Linked DNA regions of Homo sapiens: regions 2 and 3 are each linked to region 1. Evidence: promoter capture Hi-C in human tissues and cell types (Jung and others, 2019). All regions are on one chromosome and are shown on one strand. Each heading gives the region's core, a stretch centred on a gene start or on the middle of the fragment in contact. The rest is flanking DNA. Distances are from core to core; before and after follow the strand shown.

Evidence for each region. Contacts are between HindIII fragments. The study calls those that stand out against the background at their distance.
Region 2: a contact is called between a fragment that was not itself captured here and the fragment with the promoter of KCNE4 in region 1, in 2 of the 25 tissues and cell types used here (H1 embryonic stem cells and thymus).
Region 3: a contact is called between a fragment that was not itself captured here and the fragment with the promoter of KCNE4 in region 1, in 3 of the 25 tissues and cell types used here (liver, mesendoderm cells and thymus).

Annotation. Positions count from the first base shown.
Region 1 is chr2:223,049,660-223,053,737 of GRCh38, reverse strand. It overlaps KCNE4 (potassium voltage-gated channel subfamily E regulatory subunit 4), which reads right to left and starts at 1,548. Exons shown (of 2, transcript NM_080671.4): 1 at 1,464-1,548; 2 at 1-930. The coding sequence starts at 907. The coding sequence ends at 395. RefSeq lists an enhancer at 693-1,240. The HindIII fragment of the contact is 5,924 bases long and covers 463-4,078 here.
Region 2 is chr2:223,183,623-223,188,171 of GRCh38, reverse strand. No RefSeq gene overlaps it. Among named protein-coding and RNA genes, the nearest start is that of KCNE4, 130 kb to the right of the region's middle. The HindIII fragment of the contact is 5,685 bases long and covers 1-4,168 here.
Region 3 is chr2:223,244,841-223,249,145 of GRCh38, reverse strand. It overlaps the pseudogene RN7SL807P. Among named protein-coding and RNA genes, the nearest start is that of KCNE4, 190 kb to the right of the region's middle. The HindIII fragment of the contact is 5,048 bases long and covers 177-4,305 here.

The DNA.
Region 1 (4,078 bases), core at 299-2,798:
CTAGTCTCTCAGCGTGTCCTAAGCATTCGGCAGCCCTGGGAACAGGCAGACCCTGCAGGAGCTACCCAGGGCATCCAGTGAGAAAATGGCAAACATATCATCCCGCCAAATTCTGATCAGAACCCCAACACCCAGGCCCCAAAGTCAGTGTACGCGCTGCGCATCTCCGCGGCTTTTTCAGTGGTGGGTGCAAACCACAGGCACCTCCCGGACTCCTTGGAGGTGCTGGTTCCGGCTGAGCCTAGTCCCCCACCCCACCCCGAATCAGGGGTTTACCAAGGGTCTCTTCAAAGTGGCAGCCGCACTGTGAAAGTGAAACCAGACACTTGAAAACTGTCTTTCCTCTCTCTAAGGTTGCTGGCTGATGGAGCCACCGGCAGGGGTCCCGGGGGTGCTAGGAATTCTGATGGATGTTCTCCGAGGACCCTTCGCTGCTCTCGTTGAGGGGCGTCTCCGAGGTCTCCTCCAGCTCATCGTCTGCCCCCTCCTCCTGAATGGTGAGGTGCACGTCCGGGGAGGAGGACTCGGAGCTCACGCTGTCCCCTTCCATGGAACAGAGGGTGCAGGACAGCGCGGGCGCCACGCTCTCCTGCAGCATGTTCAGCATCAGGGGCACCTGCACCGACCTCAGGCCCGACACCACAGGCAGCGGCTTCATGGCCTCCCCCCAGAGCCGCTCCTCGTCTTTGTACAGCAGCAGGAGGCTGGACTTCTTCTCCCGCCTCTTGGATTTCATGTAGCCCAGCATGATTCCGATCAAGAAAATGCCGTAGAAGGACATGACAACCAGAATGTAGAAGTACTCGTTGCCATTGCCGCTGCCGCCGCCGGCCGCACGGGACTCCAGGGGGCTGCTGGAGGCGGCGGTGCCGGGGTGCGTGCTGTTCAGAGGCTCCATTTTCAGCATTGAGGCTGCCTCCACAGCAGGGGCTGGGGAAAAAGCCGCAGGTTAGAACTCTCCCCCAGGTCCTGGGCACAGGGAGGTGGGGGAGCACGAGGTTTGTGGAACTGCAATACCAAAAAAGCTTAAAAGTGCATGAAAGAAATAGCATAAGAGGGTTCGCCAAACAGCTGACAAGAGTGAGCTATGAGGGCTTGGAGTGCACGGGAGAGAAGCCCGGGAAGGTTCACTGGGAAAAGTAAGAAGGACTTTTTTTTTTTTTTTTAGTGTACACATTTGTCCTGTTTGTAGTGAGCAGTATTACTTTGATTAAAAAAAAAATCAATGTAAGACAGGAGCATACAGTAAATAGTATCTTTAAAACTGGGAAACGTATTTTAACTGAGCAGAAACAAAGTTTACATTGTGTTTCCAAAACCAAACTATTTTAAATTCAAAACAATGTTTCCTTAGAACAAAGAAAAGCAGGAAGAAAATAAAGGAAAAAAATTCATCTATTAATTGGCAAAAATGTCCCTCTTTCAAATGTTTCTGAAAGCAAAGTGTAGCCTTGCTGACTTACCAAGGCTGACAGTTTGTCCCAAGTTTTGAATTCCCAAATCGTCCAGTCCAAGAGGGTTCTTCTGCTCTGTCCGGCTCTGCGCTCTGACAACTCCGCTGCTGCAGTTGGGATATATAGTCAAGAAGTGCATCGTCACGTGCTCTGGGAGGAAAATTTACAACAGAGATTGATCGTGGCAGAGTGAGCAGTGAACTGAAAGCACTGCAGTTCAACTCCCTGAACTTTGCAGCTGTGAAAAGTGAAAAAGACTGGGAAGTGGGAACTGCTCCTCAAGCCCCAGCACCCGGCCAGGGTTTTCAGGTAGCGGTGACGATGAGTGAAAAGAGGAGAAAGGGATGTGCTGTGCTGGAACCGTTACCCCAAAGTCCGCGCTCACTGAAAATTAGCTCATGCTTCGCGCGGCTCCTGGGGAATAACCATTATTGGGCTACAGGTTTTCAGAGGCAGCTGAATCCCATAATCTGGATGAAAGACAGTTGGAAGCAAGTGCGGGATTTACAGTCAAGGAACTGGGGCTTCGGTTTCAGTTCTTCCACTCCTTATGCAAATAAGATAAATCCTTCCTTAACCTCTCCGCACCTCACATTCCTCGTCTGTAAAATCGTTGTGCCTGGCGGGGGGGGGGGTCTTCTGCAGGTAGGATTATATAAACCACGTGACCTTTTGAGACCCTTTCAGCTTAACCCTTCTAAGATTGAAGGCTGCCTGGTGTTGCTTAGCCCTCTAAAAGCAGAGATTCTAGCTGCCTTCCACATCAAGGTCACAAACCTATGTTTATAATAATTTTTTTTTAAAAGCTCCCACATTCTTTTCAGTGGTCTGCATTAAGTGGAAACATGTTGTCGTAAAAGATACTATGGGCAGGTTTTGTTCCGTCCTGCCATACACAGCTGCTCCTCTGAAGCCTCATGCGGAGGCTATTGACACGTCTCTTTGCTGTCTCTCGTAGGTCAGGGGAGGAGCAGGACTATTTCAGAGTGCAACTAAGCACAGTTCAAGTTTTTTAAACCTCGGTAGACCCTGTGTTTAAATGGCTGCTGTGATCAAAATTGGAAGAGGAATTGCAGGCTTTAATGTCAGTCTCTCTGCTCCCTGGGCTGCTTATTCTGAGGCTTTCATGCTAAGTGGAAGGAAACTGGGAGAGATCCACTCCCTCCAGTTGTCTGTGGCCTGTGGATTGCAGCCAGACTGTCTTGTGGGCCAACTCTAAAGGAAACATCTCTCATGGTTCTGCTGTAGTCAAACTGACGCATGCGACATCCACCTGACCTGCTTGAACATATATAGCTTAGGCACTGGAATTTTCACTGCTGCTACAGGAACCCCCCTGGGTTTGCACCTGATCCTGATTCTAAGAAGACACCTGGAGGAAGAATAGGAAGATGAACTGAATGCTGCCATTTTTCCCACTTGACTACTCACCTGTGTTCATCCATAAATCCCCAGCTGGCACTGGAGGTACCAACCATCGACCACTCCAGCATCACGATCATCCATACAGTGGAACTGTGCTCACACCAGTAAAGATACCCTCACCATTGTGTTAATACGTAAAACCCTCCATAGCTACCTCAGCCATGGTAGACTTGGTCTTTTCAACAGGTGTCCATCATAAACACTAGAACACTTCCATCTATATCTAAGCCTACACTGGAATGTCTGGGACACTAGAACAAGATGGGCCCAAGAAAGAGATGCCTGTTGATTGTTGACCCTGGTATTTTTTATTGTATACCTTAGGACATACGAGATTGGTCATCATCCAGGGATTGTCCAACACCAAAGACTGGAAGCTTTGAGTAGGCAGAAAGGAGGTGGGGATAGGAGTTACCAGATTCAAGGAGCAGGAAGTACAAAGCCTGGTGCCAGGAAGCCAAACAGAGGCTGAAGTTTTAAACATAATAAATCCCCAAACCTGAGCCAACAGTCCCAAGGGAATACAACCAAGAAAAGAGATGAGTGTGGGGAAACATCGAGAATGAATTCCAAAGGACGAAGCAAGTCAGAGCCAAAGGAAAAGCAGGACTAATTGCAGGAGTCAGGGAAGGAACAGCCCAGAAGAAATTCTGGGGTGCCTGCTTGGAGTCCCTGCTGCCCCGATTCCCACATACTTCCTGCATGGATATTTCTACTAGAGTTAAACGAGGCCAACTGCAGTGTCTTAGTTCAGTAATCCCAATGCTTGAAGAGGCTGAGGTGGATGAATCACTTGAACCCAGGTGTTTGAGACCAGCGTGGGCAACACAGTGAGACCCCATCTCTACAAAAAAATACAAAAATTAACTAGGCCTGGTGGCGAGTGCCTGTAGTCCCAGCTACTTGGGAGGCTGGGGTGGGAGGATCACTCGAGACCAGGAGTTCAAGGCTGCAATGAGGTCTGAACATGCCACTACACTCCAGCCTGGGTGACAGAGCGAGATCTCTAAATAAATAGAATAGAATAGAATAGAATAGAATAGAATAGAACAGAACAGAATAAAATAGTTCAATGAAATGATGCAAAGAAAGCACCATGTCTGGCCAAATGCACATGCTCAGTGCCTGTGTTTAGTTGTCATTGTTAGGAGTACGCTGTTGCTCCCAAGGGCTTCAGGTTGCCTCCTGTCATGTGTGTG
Region 2 (4,549 bases), core at 77-2,576, 130 kb before region 1:
CTTCCCAATAAGATCTCAAGACCAGGGCAAGCAGGCTCAAGGATGTGCATGAAGAGGTGAAATGGCAGAGTTTAACCAGTAGATGACCTTCCTCTGGGAACACTCACCTGGTAAGGGAAAAATGCCTCAAGTGAACATGCACACAACTGCAATAAACACACTGAACATGCAGCCCCTCCCAAGTGCTGGCAGGCCACTGTGGATGTGCACAGTCCACCCCAAGGGGAAAATCAAGGGAGGAGAAACAAACCCCAGAACCATGCCACTGCATAAAACCCCAAGCCCAGGGCCAAACAGGGCACTTGGATCTTTCAAGTCACCTGCTTGTCCCTCTTCCAGGTGTACTTGACTTCCTTTTGTTCCTGTTCTAAAACTTTTTAATAAACTTTCACTCCTGCTCTAAAAACTTGCCTTGATTTTTCCCTCTGCCTTAAACTTACTTCTGCCCATCGGTCAAATTCTCTCCTCTGAGGAGGCAAGGCTCAAGTTTGCTGCAGACTCCCACAGATTTGCCGCTGGTAACACTCGGAAGCCGGGCTGGAATTTGGTGAGAAAAGTGGCTGTCGTCCCAACAAAATCTCTCTGTGAAGGGCTCCAGCATCATGGGAATCTGCCTGCCTTTTTTGAGATAACCCAATCTTGTCAGTGGGACTGCTAAAAGAACTTGAAATCTGGCTTCATGCAGTCCCAGCAAAACCTAGAAAGATGACATGCCTAGACAAGCTCCTGAAGTCCTCTTCCTATACACACAAGCATTCTTCTAGTAGTTTATAACTCAAAGGTGAACCATTTACCACCTGCCTACAAATGCTTTGAGGATGTTTATTGATATTGCAGTCTGGGCTTAGGTACTTTCATGGTCTCCCCACCATCACTTTGGTTTGGGAAATCAAAAACTCTAACAGAACAACCAGAAGTACCACTGAAGAGAAGTCAAAGCCAGCCATTGCCATGGAAAGACAAAATTAAATTCAGGCATCTTTTCCTTCCAAGCTTGCTGACTTAAGTCTCTAATCAAAGACCTAAGCCATCATGGACCTGTTAGACCTGCCCCACTGACCCCTTTGATGCTGGATTAAGATAATCCAAAAAAGTAGCTACAGATTCAGTTTGTTCAACATATGCCCTGGTAGGAAAATGCCTTTTGAAAGTTTGGCTAAATACTTTTTCCTAATTTTTATTATAAATTAGCTCTGTAGCAGTTTCTAACTTCATGAAGAAACAAATCACATCAGTTTGCAGGAAATAAAACAAGATTGTCTGGGTCTCTTTAATGAAAAACACATATTTATTATAAGTGGGATACTATTTCATCAGTTCTACCACAGTTGGCTGGTTCAGAAATGATTGGCAATAAAGACATTAGTTTAAATGGAGAAAATGAGATTGTATTTGTCTATAATTTATCATGTATTGTTGGAAAATACAAGCAAGGGATTATCTGAAAGTAAAAAATCTGGGACGATTATGAAATCTAAGAACTACAGATAGTGTTAAGAATTCAAATTTTTCACGTTTCCCTCTCAGCCCCAAGGTGGAGTATAAGATAAAAGTTAGGGAACTAAGGTAATTACATATTGACCATTCTCAAGGTGTCTTCAAAACAAATCTTCCCCTGGGAAATTGAAAATCATTTAAAAATTTTAAAAGTAAACTATCATATATTCAGAATAGAAAGCACAAATTATAAGTATATAGATCAATGAATTATTACATGGTGAATATACCTGTGCAATCATCACCTAGATCAAGATATAGAACACTGACTTCCTCCTCCCCACACATAACTATGCACCTGACTTTTAGCTCCTTAGATTTCTCATGCCTAATTTTTGAAGTTCAAGTAAAGTCACATAAGATGTTTTCTTATTTGTATGACTTCTTTTGCTTAATACTATGTTTTGCAGATTTATCTAGTGGTTGTGTGTTCCTATAGATTAATTTTCACTGCTGTATGCTACTGCATTGTATTAACATATTACAGCTTGCTAATTCTTTTTTTTTTCTTTTTTTTTTTTTTTTTGAGATGGAGTCTCACTATGTTGCCCAGGTTGGAGTGCAGTGGCGGAATCTCAGCTCACTGCAAACTCCGCCTTCTGGGTTCAAGCAATTCTCCTGCCTCAACCTCTTGAGTAGCTGGGATTACAGGTGCCCACAGCCATGCCCGGCTAATTTTTGTATTTTTAGTAGAAATGGAGTTTCACCATGTTGGCCAGGCTGGTCTCAAACTCCTGACCTGAAGTGTTCCACCCACCTCGGACTCCCAAAGAGCTGGGATTATAGGCATGAGCCACCACGCCCGGCCAGGTCATTCTTTGTTATTTTACCTAGTCTGATTATTCTTTAGAGGTGACTCATTGAAATATCTCATCATGGTTGTCATTTATATTTCCTATTGTTAATGAGGGTGAGCACCTTTTCAAATGCCTATTGATTATTTTTAAACCCTCCTTTGTGAAGTGGCTGTTGACATCTGTTCCCCCTCCATTTTTGTTGGCTTGTCTTTCTTTTTTTGAATTTGTAGAAATTCTTTATTCATCCTGTATAAAGCCCATTGTTGGTTTATATATAGCAACTATCATCTTCCACCTTATTGCTTATTTTCTCTAACCTTCTCAGCAGCGTTCTTTGAAGAACAAAAAAATCATCTTTTAATGTAATTTATTTGATTTTCCCGTGATATTAGTGGTTTTGTATCCTATTTAAAAAATCTTTCCATGCCTCAAAATTAGGAATATGTTTTCCTATATTATCCTTTAGAAGCTTTATTGTTTTACTTTTATAATTAAATTTAAATGCATCTGTAATTGATTTTCTATGTGGTGTAGGGTTCAAATTTCCTTTTTTACATAAGCATATCTAATTCACTCAACACTGTTTATTGAAAAGACCATCTTTTCCCCATGATTCTGCCATGCCTCCATTTGTCATAAATTAAATGTGGATTAGCCTTTTACTATGGATTTTATATTATCTCAGTACAAGTAGAATAACTTTTCTGATTTCGTTTAAATATATTAATACATGCCAAATCCACTGCTGCTTTAAAAATGTGTTCCCAAAGACCTCCTCTATCTATTAAATATTAAACTCATCTCTTAATATCAATAAGGCCCAATTCCTTGGGCCAAGAGATTGGCATGTATTCATATGATTATGTTATGACTATAAAGATTCATATTTGGACAATATAAGTAGCATGTGAAGACATAATTAAAAAATAAAACAGTACATGTAAACATTATTTCTTTGTTGACATATTCATCTATGCTTTCCCATGAGGATGTAAACTGCACAGGGCAGCCCTTTGTCTTGATTACTGCTCTATCCCCAGCACCCTTTAGGTACTCAACAAATATCTATTTAATTAATCATGAAAGAAAATAGAAAACCCACATGTCTTCTATAATGTTTCAGAGTCCATAGCTAAGAATTAAGGATAGTTTTTTAAAGATATATATTGATAATGTTTTCCATGAGCTATCAAAGACCTGAGATAGTCAGTAATGGGAAATACATCTGTGATTACCCAGTAGCAAATTATCTATGGTAAAGGAAACAAACCAACCCCACTTATGTTTTCTTCAACTTTTATTTTATTTTAAATTCCGGGATACATGCTTGATGTGCAAGTTCATTACGTAGGTAAACATGTGCCATGGTGGTTTGCTGCACAGATCAACTCATCACCTAGGTATTAAGCCCAGCATCCATTAGCTATTCTTCCTGATGCTCTCCCTCCCCTGACCCCCGACAGACCCCAGTGTATGTTGCTCCCCACCATGTGTCCATGTGTTCTCATCGTACAGTTCCCACTTGTAAGTGAGAAAATGCGGTATTTGGTTTTCTATTCCTGTGTTAGTTTGCTCAGGATAACAGCTTCCAGCTCCATCCATGTCCCTGCAAAGGACATGATCTTGTTCCTTTTTATGGCTGCATATATTCCATGGTATATATATACCAACCCCACTTTTCTATTTTTACTGCGACTGACTTCCTCAGTAAGTAAGAGGATTTCCAATCCTCTCCATCGTCTATCTGGATTATTTCAATATTCTCCAATTAGTCTCCATGACTTTGGTCTTGCCTCTCTCTATCCACAAGCCTTCTGCCAAGTCTTTTCTGTTACACAGTTAGGGTCAAGTCACTGATTTCAGACTTTAACATAAAAGCGATGAGCTATCTTCTAAATCCTTAGTATGACACTCAAGGTCCTCACAAACTGGGATAGGAGTGTGGCTGATAGGAAGTATTCAATAGCCATTGCTGAATGACTCATCTCTGCTTACCCATCTAGTGTGTCCTACTTCACCCTACCAAGTACCATAATTGCAAGGCAACTCACTGCCCTAAACAATTTGTGCCTTTTCATACCTCTGTTTTTGTAACTGATGCCCAAAGTCTTAAACCAGCATTTCTACTGACTCAATCTTCAAGGCTACTTTATCCCCAGATCTCCAGTTAAGATTAATTATTGCTTTGGACACTGGCAACATTTAAATTCTCTTTGGACTATTTAACTATCTTGTCTTATTATATCACATATTGT
Region 3 (4,305 bases), core at 1,451-3,950, 190 kb before region 1:
TTTATCAATAGAAACAAACTATATTGAAAAAATATATTCTTTAGAAAATACAAGTGATAGAATAAATAGGAATAGCTAAAGGTATCAATTTATAAGTAGACAAAGCTAAAAGCTGATTTAAGTACATTAATATGTATCAGGAAAAATTATTCTGCTTATGCTATTTTTAATGTTCAGCTAATTAGTGCGTAGAGTGAAAAAATTGTTTTTTCAATCTACACAGAGATCTGTTATCTTACTTTCCAAAAGAATTTTTATGTTGGAAAATAATTTTCAAATAGACCATGTTATTCATTGGGCAATATAATAAAAATAATTGCGTTCATAAATGTCAAAAATTATATAATTACAGCTGAGTGTGGTGGTGCACACCTGTGGTCCCAGTTTCTTGGGAAGCTGAGGCAGGAGGATCTCCTGAGTCCAAGAGATCTGGGCTGTAGTACAGTATGCCAATCAGGTGTTTGCCCTAAGTTTGGCATTAATATGGTGTCCTCCCAGGAGCGGACCAAATTGCCCAAGAAGGGATGAATCAGCCAAGGTCGGAAATGGAGCAGGTCAAAACTCCTGTGTTGATCAGTAGTGGGATCACTCCTGTGATTAGCCACTAAACTCTAGCCTGGGCAATATAGCAAGACCCCCATGTCTTATAAAAAATAGTAATAATAATTTCAATTATTTTTAGCACACTCTTTCCTTCTCAAAAGTGTCCCAATTTGAACTACAAATTATGTGGTCACTCCAGTCATGACCAAAAATAATAAAAGGAAAAGCAAATTGGTTGTGGGTGAAAGGTAAATAAAGTGACATTTTGAGAGCATCTGCATTAAGTATTGTATTTTTGCTGTAATTTTGTGACCGAAGAAATTGAAGCTAAATCGCTAATTGGTTTACCCCAAGAATATCTAACCACCAGGGGAGATGATAATGTAAGCCTATCTTATTCCTAAGCTTTCTCTATACCCTTATTTTCCCCTTACAGACTATGTACATAGAATTTTTTATTCATTCACGACCCACCTTTATTCTGAGCTGCTATAGAGAATCCCTAACCATCATTAATGAATAAATTCCTGTTACACATCACTGCATAGAGTTTCCTACGTGAGAAGCATTTTAACAGTAAATCAGTATCTTTAGTTAAGAGCTTCTGGTTTTTGATTGGGGGCTCATATTTAGAACACTCTTATATATAAGAGACCAACAGATTAAAATATAATTTTTATACAGAAATGAAGACCATTACTTGCCACAAAGCTACAATGCACCTAATTTGATTGAATTATAAAAGCTAGCATTCTAAGCAAGATTTAGGAGTTTGAAGGGACAAAAGGAGGTAGCTGACCAGAGAATCCATAAGAACAATAAGGACTAACATACATCAAACGTTACTCTATGCTCTACTCACCACAAACATTATTTCATTTTGCCCTCACCACAATATAGAGAGATAGGAACCATTATTAATCCCATTTCACTGAAGATGAAAAAACTGAGGCCTAAATAGTTGAGTAGCCAGGAGATAACACTACTGTAATAGGAGAGCTTAGATTCCAATTCTTGTAGCCCTTCTGAAGAACTCAGATCTTAATTACTACTAAAATGCAACAAAACAGATGGGTCACAGCAGATCTGGCTTCTAAGGAGAATACTTTTTTATTCGCTCTAAGTAGTTACATTTTATTATATTTTGTTACGCTTACATAAAAGGAAATTTATAAAACAAAACATCTTGAGTTTATACACATGAAGCTCTTCAGTCAACTAGATTTCCACCATGTTGTTTCCGAACAGTGCTCTTCCCCAGTCTCACTGCATCACTCTGCCCCCATCTGGTGGTGGCATACATACACTCCAGAAAAGAAGAAACATTTTAAACCACATTTAGTGATAAATTTATGAAATATCTGTCTTCTTCATCATTAACTAGAACACCAAAGACTTCCCACAGTGTAAAGTACCATTATTTGACAAAAAGATTTTAAGAAACAAAGTCCATTAAAATAAGTAAATGTAGTCTATTTCATGTTAGTGAAACCAAGTTTATCAATTTAAATTTTGCTACATGCAAATAAAACATTATTTTTAAAAATAGGGAGAGGGACTAAGATGGCCAGTTAGAAGCAGCTGTGGTCCACGACACTCATGGGGAGGAACGAAATGGGACAGTGACTATGACACCTTCAACTGAAATATCCAGGTTCTTATGCCAGGACTGATTAGGGAAACAACTCCACCCACAGAGAATGAAGAAAAGCAGGGTGGGATGACAGACCACCTAGGAATAACACAGCACCAAGGGAACCCCTACCCCCAGCCAAGGGAATTGGTGAGTTATTGTGCAACCCCAGGAAACCACACTTTTCCTACAGGTCTTTGTAACCCATAGATCAGGAGATCCCCTTGTGAACCCATGCCACCAGGGGCTTGGTTCCAACATACAGAACTGTGTGGAGTCTTGGCAGAGTAGCTGCTCAGGCAAACACAGAGATCCAGGAGCTTTGTATACTCCAGCCCCAGGATCCCTGGGGATCCAGGTCTGGAACTCAGGCAAGGTGGGAGGTCCACATATACCTTTTGCAAGGGGGTGGAATCCAGGGAGTTGAGCAGTGTCATTCTCCAGGCCCCACTTCTACGGCACCTCACAAGATAAGACCCACTGGCTTGGAATTCCAGCCAGACACAGGCAACAGAATAGAGGCTGCCTGAGACTGGATAGAGACCCTAAGGGGAGGGTTGGGTGCCATCTCTGCTGTTTGGTTTACTCAGCCATTCCAGCCTGTGGGCTTTGGAGAGTCCAGGTGGTTCTGACAAGGAAGGGTCCCCCCAGCAGCACAGCACAGTAGCTTTGTAAGATCATGGCCAGACTGCTTCTTTAAGTGGGGCCCTGATCCATTCTCCTTCACTGAGTGGGACCTCCCAGCCAGGCCCTCCAGCCCCACCTACCCACACAGACTGTGGACTGAGCTCTGATCTCTCCCTGGGATGGAGTGCCTTGGAGAGGGGAGGGCTGCCACCTGGGTTAGTTGGACGACTCAGCCGTTTCAACTTGTGGGCCTTGGAGAGTCCAAGTCAAGAGGGGCAGAAGCAGTTCCCCACCAAGACATAGCTCTTTTGTCAAGGCATGGCCAGACTGCTTCTTTAAGTGTGACCCCAATCCACTCCTCTTCATGGGACAGGTCCTCCCAGCTGGAGCCTCCCAGCCAGGGCCTCCAGCCACTCTCAGCAGGCTTCTCAGTGGAAACCCTATAAGCTAGAAGAGATCGGGGGCCAATATTCAACATTTTTAAAGAAAAAAATTTCTAACACCAAATTTCATATTTCATTTCCTCATTATTTCCTTGTCTGAAAGGATCTTATTTCTCTTTCACTTATGAAGTTTAATTTGAAATAAGATCCTTTGCAGGTAAGCAAATGCTGAGGAAATTTTTTACCACCTGACCTGCCTTACAAGAGGTCCTGAAGGAAGCACTAAATATGGAAAGCAAAAACTGTTACCAACCACTAGAAAAACACACTGAAGCACACAAACCAGTGACACTATGAAGCAACCATGTAAACAAGTCTGCAAAATAACCAGCTACCATCATGATGACAGAATCAAATCCACACATAACAATACTAACCTTAAATATAAATGGGCTAACTGCCCCCAATTAAAAGACACAGAATGGCAAGCTGGATAAAGAACCAAGACCCATCAGTATGCCGTCTTCAAGAGATCCGTCTCACATGCAAAGACACACATAGGCTCAAAATAAAGGGATGGAAGAAAATTTACAAAGCAAATGGAAAACAGAAAAAAGCAAGGGTTGCAATCCTAGTTTCTAACAAAACAGACTTTAAGCCAACAAACATCAAAAAAGACAAAAAAGTGAGTTACATAAAGGACATAAAGGTAGAGTTCAATTCAACAACAAAAAAGCGAACTATCCTAAATATATATGCACCCAATACAGGAGCACCCAGATTCATAAAGCAAGCTCTTAGAGACCTTCAAATAGACTTAGACTTGCACACAATAATAGTGGGAGGCTTTAACACCTCACTGACAATATTAGACAGATCATAGAGAGAGAAAATTATCAAAGATATTAAGTACCTGAACTGAACTCTGGATCAAGTGGACCTGATAGATATCTACAGAATTCTCTACCCAAATTCAACAGAATATACATTATTCTCATTGCCATATGGCACTTACTCTAAAATTGATCACATAATCGAAAGTAAAACATTCCCCAGCAAATGCAAAAGAACTGAAATCATAACAAACAGTCTCTCAGACTACAGCACAATCAAATTCAA